3 separate regions of the Homo sapiens genome follow, and all the other regions are linked to region 1. The links are contacts of gene promoters, found by promoter capture Hi-C in blood cells and fetal thymus (Javierre and others, 2016). All regions are on one chromosome and are shown on one strand. Each heading gives the region's core, a stretch centred on a gene start or on the middle of the fragment in contact. The rest is flanking DNA. Distances are from core to core; before and after follow the strand shown. Region 1 holds the start of SPATA6L (spermatogenesis associated 6 like). Region 2 overlaps ERMP1 (endoplasmic reticulum metallopeptidase 1). Region 3 holds the start of RANBP6 (RAN binding protein 6).

Region 1 (4,299 bases), core at 1-2,500:
TCAAAATAAAATTAACAAATAATGGTGAATGAAGTGAGATGAAAACTTGCTTAATTTTTGCCTTGATGAGGAGGGAGACAGATTTATCACTTAGCTTCTCAAGAGTTCCTTCTTCCTGCACAATTTTTAGAGCTTAAAACTGGTATAGCACTACTAATAAGGTCTAGCCCTATTTGCTGTCAGCAAAGTGGGACAAATCCAGGAAATGTTGATCACCTTTCACACCCACATGTATGATGAAACCACACCATTTGCCAATTGTATGGAAGACAACCAGATTCCATGACAATTTCCTGTTAGCACTGTGCTTGTAATCATAGCCAGTAGAAAAGCCCCTAGAGGAAAAGCGGCATGATATTCTGTTACTAACTACATGGAAGGATTGGAAAATGGAAACTGAAATAAGAGGGAGTGACAGACCCCCAAGTAGAAACCATGGAGTCACTCTGCCACAGCACTTCACTTAGGAAGGATTTGGTAATTACGAAATAGTGATTGATTGATTTCCCTTTTGGAATTAGCAAGCCAGAGCTATCACTAAGGGGAAATATCATAGAAAATATCTGATTGGTTCATAGAGTTGGCAAATAATCAGGAAGTGATGGAGCTTTTTAAAATTATTCCCTGGTTATTTAAAGAAGTTGAAAATCCTTTCACAAATCTTTATCCAGGAGAAGAAAATAAATTCTACCTGGACTTAATGCAGGGTTGTTTGAAAAGAAATTAAAAATTCATGATAAAGATAAGAAACATGTTAGCTTTAGAACAGAAAAAAAAAAAAGTGGGAACAGGTGGAGCTGAATTAAAGGTTAGGAAGTCAGGGAAAACCAATATGGAGAAAAAGACAAAGGTGCGATCTGTCCCAGAAGATAATGATGTGTTTGTGGTAAGTGGGGGATGTGGGGGAGGGTTGTTGAAAACCACCTGAGACTATTTAGAGTCCGACTTGAGGTTAAGGAGGGGGAGTTCATCGATCTCTTACCGCCCGGATCTGCAGCTCCACCACCACCTCCAGAGGCATCGTTCCCTGCGTGGGCGAAAGGACTGGAATGAGAAGATCCTTTTGTGCCGAGCCTTGGACCAATTTTTCTTAGTTTAGCTGAATACCTAGAGCAAATGTTCCCAGAAGCTTCCCCAGTCCCACGCCCTTGTTCCCCTACCGTCCCCCCCAGCCCAGGTCCCTCCCACCGGGACGGGTCTCTCACACTCGAAGCTGGAGTGCAGGCTTCCAGAAGGCGGAAGCGTGGCGTTGCCAGGGACACTCAAACGCGCAGTCTTCATCGTGGAACGCGCGCGAGGCCCCAGCGCAGACGCGCGCCCTCACGGTCGCTGTTGCCCACGCAGTGCCCCCAGCCGGAGAGACTGGCCCTGTCTGGCGTGCTAGACGGATAGAGAAATGCTAACAATCCCGATCTTCTTTCCATCAGCTCCTGCTATCCCCAATTACCATGTCAGAATGTTTACCGTTTTCATTCTGAAAGTAGAATGAGATCATAGGTCTGTTATAATTTAAATAGTACACGTTTAGTAGCTGCACGACCCCAAGCCTTGTAGTTTCTGTAACAATTCTCATTTAATATAGTTGCCTGTTCCTAAAAATACTCTTTTGCTTATTAAATGTTATGTTTGCTTCGGAAAACATGGCCACCGTCAATAACAAACGTGTGCTAATTAGAAATATAAGGTTAATTCTTAAACATATTTAAAAGTTAGGTATCCCCTGTTAGCAGCAATAGAAATATGTCAGTCTTTCCATAACGGTGTCCAGCCTTTTCTGGGGTTTAGTTTAAGGCAAGCATTGAGTAGTCCAATGGGTAGTTATTGCATTTGCCAAAACCACAGTTACTGTAAACACTGTCAGAGGTGGTGCGCAGAGCAAGAGTTCTGAATGAGTAGGGGACATTCACTACATCTAATAGAGAAAAATGAAGGAAAGGAGCAGGTAGTGGCTCCTTCTAGCAATCCAAAAAATCTAGGAAGGCCAATGCTGCCTCTGAAAAAAAAATTTTAAATCCTAAATTATGTTCAGTCATTTATTACTAATATTTTGCATTAGAGAGTTATACAATTGGAAATAGTGCAGAAGGATGGTCAAGACAAGATTGGGTATTCATTTTGGTAACTGGAGTTTATTTCCCTGGAAGGGAAAAACTTGGTATGATGAAGAAGGGCATATTGTATCCTTATCCAGTTCCTAGTGCTGTGTCTCTCTGCATATCAAGAGATACAGGTGGGCACCTAACTATCTATAGTGTCCAGATCATTGATTTGTCACTCACAACTTGCTGACACCCAGAGTGATGTGGGACAGGACCTGTGATGATCCTAACAGGTAGGTCACCAACACCAATGCTAAGAAATCAAGGAGAGTGACAAGCAAAACAAATTAATAAATAGCCAGAGTTGTATTGGGAGAGAAGAATCAGTCTTTACTGAGGATCTGCAAAGTGCTAGGCACATTGCGTATGCTAATTCATCTCAACCCTACAATAACTCTATCAGGGAGATATTATCCCTATTTTACAGATGCAGAATCTGAAGCTAGACAGCCTTTTACTAAAAGCCACAGACCTAATAAGGGAGCAGCCACATTTGAATCCAGGTGTGCCCTACCACATCACTGGGTCTGCAATATAGACATCCTGTTGATCTCTAGAGACACAATGTTCCATTCTATGCTCTTCTTAGTCTTAACTCTTGATCTAACTGGACTCTCCTTGCTTGGCTGCTAGGGCACAGCTCTCTTCTGGTTTCCCTCCAACTTTCTGGCTATTCTTTCTTTGTCTGTTTATCCTCCTCTGGCTAAGCAATGTTTCTAGGTCCTTTCCTTTCCTCACTCTATACCCTTTACTTAGAGTGTCATCCATTGCAGACATTGATTAACACATGTATACAGATTTACATACCCCACCAAGACCTCTCTTCTGCTGACAAGGTGGAATCTCAATATCATATCTTATGTCATACATATAAATATATATATCTCCTCTTTGTAGCGACTGCCATAATAGCAGTTTTACATTTGTTCCTGTGACTCTTGATTACTATTTGTCTCCTTAATCTGTAAACTCTGCATGGCTAAGCGTTTATACCCTAAATAGGATAGAAGATAATAAATATTTTTGAATATTAAATGCAGAGATGGTCAAGCCAATCTGTGGGGGTTAATGTACATGGATAAAGAGAGGTCCCATCACAATGGGTAAAAGAAATCTGCAGAATTAGAAAGGACCAGGCACAGCTACTTCTGCAAATCTGCTATGGTGATATTAAATGAGTTGATGGGGATACTTCACACTCTCCTAATTGTCCCCGCCATGGTTACCTGAGGCTCTCAGCTGCTGTGGAGATGTGGCAGTTGCTATACACACCCAGTCCCTCTCACTCATCTTGCAAAGTTATTTATCATTGAGGCTGTCCACCTCTGCCGGGGGCCAACAAAGCCTTTTAAGGATTGGACTGTCACCACTTCAAGAGAAAGCCTTTATTACCTGGGTAGGTACCTCTTGGTGGCAGCAAACAGATTTCAATGAACAACTGCTATTTCCAGAGAGTATCTGCAGTGCAGCTTGGCCAGCAGTGACATCAGCATTGCAGAAATGATACAGCAGCACATCCCGTTCACATCCTGGCCCCAGACAAGAAAATGAAACATGCCCCAAATGGGGATTTTCCAAAGAGTAAATTAACAAAGAACAAGAATATGACAGATAATTATGGCTGAGATTTTTTTTTAACTAAAAAAATTAATTATAAGACAAAAATCATAAATATTTCAAATAATAAGTGTATTCATATGAAAGGAAGAAACTATTAAAGAGACAGCACTAGTGGGAAGGGTATGGGAAAACACATTGATGGGAGTGTAAATACATACAATGTATTCATTTCCTATGGCTGCTTAACAAATTTAGGGGCTTAAAGCAAGACAAATTTATTATTTAATTTTGTGAGAAGTCCAACACAGATCTCAATGGGCTAAAATCAAGGTGCCTGCAGGGCTGCATTCCTTGCCTTTCTGTTTCCTTGCTTTTCTGGAGGTTGCTCGTATTCCTTGGCTTAAAGTTTCCTTCTTTCATGTTCAAAACTGGCTACATAGAGCCAAGTCCTTCTCATGCTGCCATCTCTCTGGTTCTCCCTTTTTTTTTTTTTTTTTTTTTTTTTTTGAGACAGAGTCTCGCTCTGTCACCCAGACTGGAGTGCAGTGGTGCGATCTCAGCTCACTGCAACCTCCGCCTCCCAGGTTTAAGCCATTCTTCTGCCTCAGCCTCCCGAGTAGCTGGGAGTACAGGCACGCAC
Region 2 (4,904 bases), core at 2,405-4,904, 1.2 Mb after region 1:
GGCTGAGGCAAGAGAATGGCGTGAACCCGGGAGGCAGAGCTTGCAGTGAGCCGAGATCGCGCCACTGCACTCTAGCCTGGGCGACAGAGTGAGACTCCGCCTCATAAATAAATGAATAAGTGAATGAATGAATGAATGTACGTTCTAGGCCAGGCACAGTGGTTCCCACCTGTAATCCCAGCACTTTGGGAGGATGAGGTAGAATAATCACTTAAGGAGTTCAAGACCAGCCTGGGCAACAAAGTGAGAACCTGTCTCTATTATTTAAAACATAATAATAAAAAGTGGGTTCTAATGGCTCACAAAAATGCTGGCCTTTAATTATTAGACTCCACATATACAATCTGTAACATTTGGCACTATGTTTGTAAAGAGTAACTGAATATGCACTCCAAAATATGTCACTTTGACATACGGATTATTTTGAGCTGAAGGCAACTGAGAAGCAGGTACTATACAAAAAAGCTCTCTGCCCTCCCCTTGTTTGCCTAAAAGCAGGGTATACATTTACCAAGGTGTCCCCACTTCCCCTTTCCACCAGGAAGTACAAAGGTTGATCAAGAAAGACAACTTTAAACTTTTGGTGGCCTGGCAACAGCACAAAAGGAATCTATATAACACTTTACTAACTAACCTTTCTCTACCATTTATTTGCCTTCCTTCAATTTGCCACCCCTCGAGACTCAAGGTCCTTTTCCTTTGTCACTTCTCTAAAAATGTATTGTTTGGTTGAAGATGCTACATAAGCCAGATTTCTAAGCCACCTCTTTGAGATGTACTCATTTTCCTTGAGTATCTCCCATGTACATGAAGTGCATGTGTTAATAAACTTCTATTTGGTTTTTCTCTTTTTAACCTGTCTTTTGTTACAGGGGTCCACTCAGCTAAGAACTATGAAGGGTAGAGGGGAAACTTTTTTCTTTTGTCCCTACATTTGCTGCTAATTCTTGTATATACAGCCTTCTTATATAATGTTCTTAAGCAACCATGGTGTTTATTTGCCGCTTCCCAGAATTTAAGCATCATAATAGTGGGCAAAGAGTGACATTTATTACTGCTTTGAAATGGACATAAAAAAACCACTGGTGGCCGGGCACAGTGGCTCACACCTATAATCTCAGAAATTTGGGAGACTGAGGTAGGCGGATCACTTGAGGTCAGGAGTTCAAGACCAGCCTGGCCAACATGGTGAAACCCTGTCGCTGCCAAAAATACAAAAAAAATCAGCCGAGTGTGGTGGCACAGTAGGAGAATCGCTTAAACCCGGGAGGCAGAGGATGCAGTGAGCCAAGATTGTGCCACTGCATGCCAGCCTGGTGACAGAGTGAGACTTGGCCCCCCAGCCAAAAAAAAAAAAAAAAAAACACTAAACCACTGGTTACCCCAGCAGCACACGAAGGTACTTCTGGCTTATTTAACAAACGTGTGTATACTGATTTTTGAAAATGCAAGTTACATTCTAAACGCAATTGTCAAGCTTTCTAAATGAAGATATTCTAATATGAATCATTTTATCAAGCAAATAAATTTTACTTACATTTTGTATAACTCTAGACGTTCAAATTTGGCCTGCTATAAGTTCGAGTAATCCAGAAGTGTTAATATTACATAAGAGTTAATAAAAACTTTTAAAAATCACTTTCCATGCCAGGTACTATTTTAGCGTTTTACTTATTTTTAATCCTCCAAGCAACACTATTAGGAAAGTACTATTATTTTCTCCATTACACAGATGAGAAACTAAGAAGTTAAGCAATTTGCAAAAGGGAGTATTAATTACACCCTAATATTCTTTTTCCTTTCAAATGTAGCTGAAAGAACTGACTGGCCAGGAAATCCAGCATCTTATCCTAGTTTTGTCTCTGATCAGCGATGACCAGCTAGCTAAATGTACTCCTGTATCAAATGAGGGGTTCAGCCAGATGCCATCTCAGGTCTTGTCTACCACTAAAATGCTATGCCATTGTAAATGCTATTTTCCATCCCTATTTACAATCCCTTTAACCACTGAATACAATTTTCTGAAAAATAAATATTTTAATAAATGGAAGTTCAATTTAGGGGATTCCCATTCATTTGACAAATATATACTGCATCAGGCACTGTCCTAAATGCAAGTATTCTATTTTGCCAAATGATTTTCAGAGAAAGATTTACACATTAATTAGGTACTTTAACAGTATGGCACCCTCAGTGGAGCAAAATTCTCACTTTATAGGTCAACAGAATCTGCTAGAAGAGATATCCGCCAACCCGCAGCCCAGGACAGCTTTGAATGCAGCCCAATACAAATTTGTAAACTTTCTTAAAACATGAGTTTTTTTTTTTAAGCTCATCAGCCATCATTAGTGTATATTATGTGTGGCCCATGACAATTCTTCTTCTTCCAATGTGGCCCAGGGCAGCCAAAAGATTGGACACCCCTGCTCTAAAACCATGCAGTAACCCTTGAAGGCAGGGACTGTCCTTATGTGGTATCCCCAAAGCCTAGTATAACACCCAGCTGAGTAAAACACTTTCTAAGTGTCAGAACCTAACTCCAGGACACTAGGACACACACACTGTCTGGTAACATTGAGAAAGCTGCTTCAGTCTACCAGAAACATTCCAAGTCTTATCACTGGGCTGCTGGCATTAACACCAAAAAATAATATTAATAAAGCACTTAAGAGAAGACAGAATGGTTAGATCCTAAACTAAATGATACTATCCTAATTATCCTGCTTTCCATCACAAAGAAAAAAGGTTTGCCCAAGAAAATGGTCCCCACAATTGCCCAAGTAGCTTGGGGTTATGTTAATAAACTTTCTGGGCTGTGACAAGTTCCAAATGACTAAAAAACAGGTACATACCTGGTGAGTTTGCTACTGAGTCAAAATGACAATTAGCCAAGACAGCATGCTGGGCTCCATCTCTGGGTTCCAGCTTTACCACAACATTGGTGATGTTGTCATAATAGCTTGTAAAACCTCCCAAGAAATCAATGCTAAAAGAGCCTGTGGGCCGTTGTACATCTACTGAAATCTTATGAAGGCTGTTGCTTTGCACTTCAATCAGTTTAATCTGTTCCAAAAGGTAGTGCACGGTCAGAATTTCATTTTCTGGACTTCCTGTAGTCCTGGGGCCAATGGAGGTTATGTGTTCAAGATAATCCCTGGAAGTAACCAAAAGAATAACAAAGGTTTGTAGTTAAAATTGACACTTAGCGTGGGTAACTTTTCCACTACACACCCCTTCCTCCCCAAAAAAGCTTAGTTCTTTGCCTTATATAAAAGGGACCGCCTTTCATTATTTCAGACACCAAGTGAACATCACTTATAAAGTTCCATATTTTTATTGTTGCCTCCCACGAGTTGACCCCTTCAGTTTTCTCCACCATCCCACTCCCAACTTCTCCCCATATCAAACCAATACAAGGACTAGGGATGTATTCAAAACGTGTGACCACTGGCCAGGCACGGTGGCTCACGCCTGTAATCCCAGGACTTTCGGAGGCTGAGGTGGGTGGATTGCTTGAGCTCAGGAGTTTGAGACCAGCCTGGGCAACATGGTGAAACCCCATCTCTTCTAAAACTACAAAAACTAGCCAGATGTAGACTACTATCCGCCTGTAGTCCCAGCTACTCAAGAGGCTGAGGTGGGAGGACTGCTTGAACCTGGGAGGTGGAGGCTACAGACCCGAGATGGAGCCACTGCACTCCAGCCTGGGCGACAGAGCCAGGCCCTGTCTCAGAAAACAAACAAAAAAAGCTAAAGACTAAGCAGGATAGAATATAACTTCACTGTGCATACTCCTGAACGTTACAGATTCTGGGTTAATGACTTTAAGTAGCAGAAACCAATGAGCAAAAATAATCAAGTCAAGAGGTTAAATAAGGCGGGCGGGGGAAACTTTTGATGGACCTAGCCCTCCTAGCATACACCCAAGGTCTAATAACTTCAATTCAGGCCAAAACCAACTGTACCCCTAATGAAAACAAAACTGTTTTTGTCTTTTCACTGCATTCCAAGTGGGGAAAGCTGGAAGTGGGGGTGGGAGACGTTTCAGAAAGTCCTTAATAAGCTTGCAACACTTTGCATTCTAGCAAAAACTTTTTAGAACACAGTAGCTGTTGAAAACTTGACGCCAGCTTAACACTTCATGAGCTTTGACACACCTGGGTTACAATATCTTTGACTTAATCACCTTTCCTAGCATTCTTAAAGGTCTTAAAAAAAAAAAAAAAAGTCAAACCTTACACAGTCACTAATCCAAGGGGCCTAAAGATAAACTGCAGGGATCTGAGAATTTATCAGACTGCATACCAAATTTTGACTGGGCGGTGTTCCAGAAAGAGTTTCTATAGCCTTCAGATGTGGGGGCTGTAACCCTCAGAAAGTTAGAACAGTGCACTAGCGCCTTCCAAAACTCCCCGCCCCCAAAGCGAATTTATACAACAGTCTAGGTACACAAATTTCCATCTGGAAAGCAGAAGGGCTAAGCAAGGTAAAAAGGGGAAGCTGTTCCAGAATATGGGGAGACGACTCACAACCAACCATCTGCACGAAGGGCAGACAGTGGAAAGCAGGTTCAATCTACCTGGCAACCCCAATCTGCACCACGAGCTTAACCGGGGACAGGCAAGCCCCAAGTCCCGGCAATTCAGACCCCAGAAGAAGGACAAGCAAGGTCACCCCACCCCACGTGCAGCCTGGGAGGGGTCAGCGAGTCCCAGCGGTCCGGCAGGGGCGGGTGCACACAGGTGCGGTGCCCCGGAGCCTGCGCAGGAGCCGCAAACGGACGCGCGGGCCGTGCCAGGAGGGAGCGGCCGGTACCTGGCTTGGAGCGCGTCGAACTCCCCGCGGTGTCCAGCGGCCCCGCGTAGCACGAGCTGCTGCAGCGAGAGCTGCACCAGCGTCCGCAG
Region 3 (4,581 bases), core at 629-3,128, 1.3 Mb after region 1:
GCAAGATACTCTGGGCCACGAATTCTTGCACATTCCAGGAGAAAAGGCATGGACTCTGCTGCTGCCACTCGAACATTGTCATGGAAATAAAATTTCAGTAAAGGAACCATCAGCTTCACAACTTGTTCTGTATATTCCACAAACCCTTCCCTTAACTCCTTAGCATAGTAAACCAACATTTGGCAAGCAGTTGCTTTTGCTTCAAGTCCTGAAGTTTTAATTCCAAAACTCTGCTGGTCTCCAAGATTTACAAATTGCCAGCCATCATCGTCACTCATATTTTCCACATCCTGTGTGTCTAAGAGAGCAACATCAGGTTTAGCTGAAGCAGTCTTAATAAGAGGCTCGATAACCAGTGGAAGGTACTGTTGAAAATCTTTTCCAAGAATTTTACACATTCTAGCCCATGCTGAAACCATGTAAGAGGTCTGAGGGTCATCATCTTCCATATTATTTAAGTCTGATTGTGTCTTCAACAACAGCTGCATCACATTTGATGCATCTTGCATAAATTTTTCCTTCCCAACAGCAAGACCAATATGGCTAATGCACTCGATAGTTTTTCCTCTCAGAAGCTTGAGTTCCTTCTGAACAGCAAGCTCAACAATGTGCTTTAGTGAGGGCATGAATATATCATAATATGGGACAAATTTTTCTTCTATTGTATCTGCAACTGATGCAATGGTTGTCACAAGTTGTTCCAAAGCCAACTTAGTTCCATTCCGAATCAACTCTTGAAGTTTAATCACCAAGACGGAATGTAGATTTTTCACCATACTATCCACATATAGAACTAGCAATGATTTAGGGCAGTCTTCAATAAAAATAATAAGAGCAGAAGCTGCATGTGATTGCACACGCTGATTACCTTGATTTTCCATGGTACGTAACAGAGCTGCAATCACTGTTTCATGAAATTTCTTTTGGAAATTAGGTGCAAAATCTGTAGCCATCTGTCCAAGTGTAGTACAGGCTGCAGCCCTCACCCTTGGATGAGGATCCTGAAGAAAAAGCAAAACGGAGTTAACTGTTTCATCTAGAATTGATTCCATTTGTTGATGGCATCCTTCTCCAATGGCAGATAAGGCCATTAATCCAGCATGTCGATACTTCCAGTCAGGGCTCTGAAGCATCTGCATGATATGCTCCTTGGTCATTGGTAAAACAACTTTTCCACCAAGCCCACAAGCCAGTCTGTCTAGTGCACTCTCCGCAGCAACTGCATTGCTGTCAAAATCATCTTCTTCCATTTCATCAGCATTTACCCAGTCCTCATCATCTTGTAGATCAACCATCATTGCTAATATATGAGGAACTGCCTGTGCAATAATATTTGTATGTTTTTTCAACATCGGAGTGGCAGTTTCAGACAAGGTCACTATAACTTCGAGGGCCAGCTGGCGCTGCAGATTACTAAGCCTAGAGTCTCCACATAACTTCAAACTCAACTGTAGAGTATCTTCTAAATAAGGACCCAAGTACTTAGGTACGGTATCTGCAATCTCAACAAGGGATTCTAGCACTGAATCATCATCCTGGTAGCATGAGTCATTCACAGCCTGTAAGATTCCAGGAAGCAAGTCTGCAAAGTCTTTGAAAAGAGCAATATTATTCTCATTAGCAAGTACAAATGCAGCTGCAGCTCTAGCGGATAATGTCCTGATTGCTGGATGTTCTTGATCTTGAATACACTGGTCCAACAACCGTTTGATGATATCCAAATCATGCCGCTCTTGGGTCCCAAAAATCCCAGGAAAGTGCCAGAAAACGTGAAGTGCAACTTCCCATAGAACCACATTTTTGGAGTAGATTGAATCAATAAGAAACTTCAGACCTTCCGGCCAGTGGTTAGTGCCATCCTCATCTATCAAATTCCTGGCCAGCACTGCAAAAATATCACAAAGTTTTTTCCTCATGCTAGCATGTGTTTCTAACTTAACAGCCAGAATCAGTTCAATCTTGACATCTCTCTGAACATCAGCAGGCAGATTTGGATAAACCTCCTCAAACCCAGAGGACAAAAGCCGTCGTAGCAGTGCGGCAGCCATTTGTCTCACCTCATAACCTGCTCTTCTATTTCTGACGGCATCTAAGAGGAAGGTAGTCTTACACAGACCTGGGATATTTTCATAGATTTCCTCTGCTTGCCTCCGCACCATACAGCTTGGATTGATCAGGTTCTTCAGAAGCTGGTAAAACTCTTGCTTTTCTGACACGGTCGCCGGCACCCCTGCAGACGCGGTTGCCGCCATTGCGCTCTGTCAAAGCTACCGCGACCGGGAAGGAGGGAGGGGGTCTGCGGCTCGAAGCAGTGACGTAGGCGAGGCGCCGGCGGGGATGGGCGGGGTGCTTCTCCCTCCTCTGCCCAGAAACTCTAGCTGCGCTCTGGCAGGCTGCGAGCTAGGTTTTGGAGAGAGGTGAGAGCCGTGTGGAGGCCAATGGCATCCTCCATTTGTTTTTCAATAAGATAAACGTGCACTTGCAGGCGAGAGAAGAAAAGCATTGATTAGAATGGGATCATGACTTTTTTTTTTTTTGGATACAAGGTCTGGCTGTGTCACCTAGGCTGGAGTATAGCGGCGCGATCCCTGCTCACTGCAGCCTCAACCTCCTGGGCTCAAGCGATCCTCCCCGCCTCAGTTCCCCCAGTAGCTGGGACCACAGGCGCGCGCCACCACGCCCGGCTAATTGTGTTTTTTATAGAGACAGGGTTTCGCCATGTTGCCCAGGCTGGTCTCGAACTCCTGGGCTCAGGTGATCTGCCCGCCTCGGCCTCCCGAAGTACTGGGAATACAGGTGTGAGCCACTGCTTCTGGTCAGATTATGAGTGATTTTTTTCTTTTATTTCTAAACTATATTGTTACTTTGATAATTTTAAAACAATAAGTCTATCTTGAAAACATGCCAAGTGAAAGAAACCAGTCACAACCACATATTGTATGATTCCATTTGTATGAAAGGTACCAAACAGGCAAATTGTATAACAGAAATTAGTGGTTGCCAGAGGTTGGGGGGAGGGGAGGATAGAGAATGACTGCTATCAAATAGGGTGTTTCTTTCTGAGTGATGAAATGTTCTAAAATTAATTGTGATGGTTGCACAATTCTGTGATTATACTAAAAACCATTGAGTTGTTAAATTTAAATTGGTGAATTGTATGGCATATAAATAATACTACAATAAAGCTTTATAAAATAATAAGTGTGATAATAAAATAATAATTACTTCCCCACTACCACATCTAATGCAGTAGAGTGGTAGCTCAAAATCTGGTGTGTGTCAGAATCACCTGGCCTGTTGGTTATAATAAAGAATGGGAAAGACAACTGAGTAAAGTATGGTAGAAAGTGATCTGAACTAATAATCAGAAGACAGACTTGCATCCTGGCCTTGTCACTAAATTAATTTTGTATCCTAGGACAAGTTACTCAAGATTTTCCTTGCATCTTGTCTAAACTGAAATATGAAGGGATGCGGTTAACTAGAATCCTAACTAACCATTAGTGGGAAGCTGCTGAGGTTATTCCAAGAAACAAATGTTGATGAAACTAAATTTGTTTCTTTTTTTTTTTTTTTTTTTTGTGAGATGGAGTCTCGCTCTGTCGCCAGGCTGGAGTGCAGTGGTGCGATCTCAACTCACTGCAACCTCTGCCTCCTGGGTTCAAGCAATTCTCCTGCTTCAGCCTCCTGAGTAGCTGGGACTATGGGCGCATGCCACCACGCCCAGCTAATTTTTGTATTTTAGTAGAGACGGGGTTTCACTATGTTTGGTCAGGATGGTCTCGATCTGTTGACCTCGTGAGAGATCACCCGCCTCGGCCTCCCACAGTACTAGGATTACAGGTGTAAGCAACCGCGCCTGGCCAGTTTGTTTCTTTAATTCAGGCAGGTGTGTCAATCAAAAACAAGTTTCATTCCTATAACAATGATTAGGTCTTACTTTTGTATTAGCACTTGCCACACTCATTTTGACCCTTATACAGAATTGAGAGATTGCTAGGATAGATATAATACTAAATTTAGGTGAGAAGTGGAAACTAAGGGAAGTTACAGGATTTGCCTAGGATGACACACCTGAGTCTCAATTCTACCTCTTCTGAAAGTGACACTGATGCTCTTTTCACCATATTGCTTCCCCATTAACTACTCTTGGTTTTGCAGCATGATCAGAGGCTTCACTTACTGCAAATTCTGTCTTAAACTTTTCCAAGCAGCCTTAATTTTGTTTTTGTAAAGTGCTGCCGCATATACCCACAAAAATTAGAAAGTCGTAGCTTTTACATTAACCAGATGATAGACAAAGTAGGTAGTCTCATAAATTACATTGTAGCCGAGCATGGTGGCTCACACCTGTAATCCCAGCACTTTGGGAGGCTGAGGCAGGCAGATCACGAGATCAAGAGATCAAAACCATTCTGGCCAACACGGTGAAACCCCGTCTCTACTAAAAGTACCAAAATTAGCTGGGCGTGGTGGCACATGCTTGTAGTCCCAGCTACTCGGGAGGCTGAGGCAGGAGAATCGCTTGAACCTGGGAGGCAGAGGTTGCAGTGAGCCGAGATTGCATCACTGCACTCCAGC

Evidence for each region. Contacts are between HindIII fragments. The CHiCAGO score rates a contact against its expected background, and 5 or more counts as called.
Region 2: a contact is called between a fragment that was not itself captured here and the fragment with the promoter of SPATA6L in region 1, in 1 of 17 cell types (monocytes). The highest score is 5.6, in monocytes.
Region 3: a contact is called between a fragment that was not itself captured here and the fragment with the promoter of SPATA6L in region 1, in 1 of 17 cell types (fetal thymus). The highest score is 5.1, in fetal thymus.

What each region holds. Positions count from the first base shown.
Region 1 is chr9:4,665,230-4,669,528 of GRCh38, forward strand. SPATA6L (spermatogenesis associated 6 like) reads right to left here and starts at 1,251. Exons shown (of 12, transcript NM_001353486.2): 1 at 983-1,251. The coding sequence starts at 1,021. PLPP6 (phospholipid phosphatase 6) reads left to right here. Exons shown (of 1, transcript NM_203453.5): 1 at 1-29. RefSeq lists silencers at 1,040-1,089, 1,100-1,179. The HindIII fragment of the contact is 11,868 bases long and covers 1,128-4,299 here.
Region 2 is chr9:5,827,875-5,832,778 of GRCh38, forward strand. ERMP1 (endoplasmic reticulum metallopeptidase 1) reads right to left here. Exons shown (of 15, transcript NM_024896.3): 1 at 4,816-4,904; 2 at 2,853-3,154. Among named protein-coding and RNA genes, the nearest start is that of ERMP1, 2.8 kb to the right of the region's middle. RefSeq lists a silencer at 4,810-4,904. The HindIII fragment of the contact is 813 bases long and covers 3,249-4,061 here.
Region 3 is chr9:6,013,356-6,017,936 of GRCh38, forward strand. RANBP6 (RAN binding protein 6) reads right to left here and starts at 2,269. Exons shown (of 1, transcript NM_012416.4): 1 at 1-2,269. The coding sequence starts at 2,252. RefSeq lists an enhancer at 2,088-2,147. The HindIII fragment of the contact is 2,610 bases long and covers 574-3,183 here.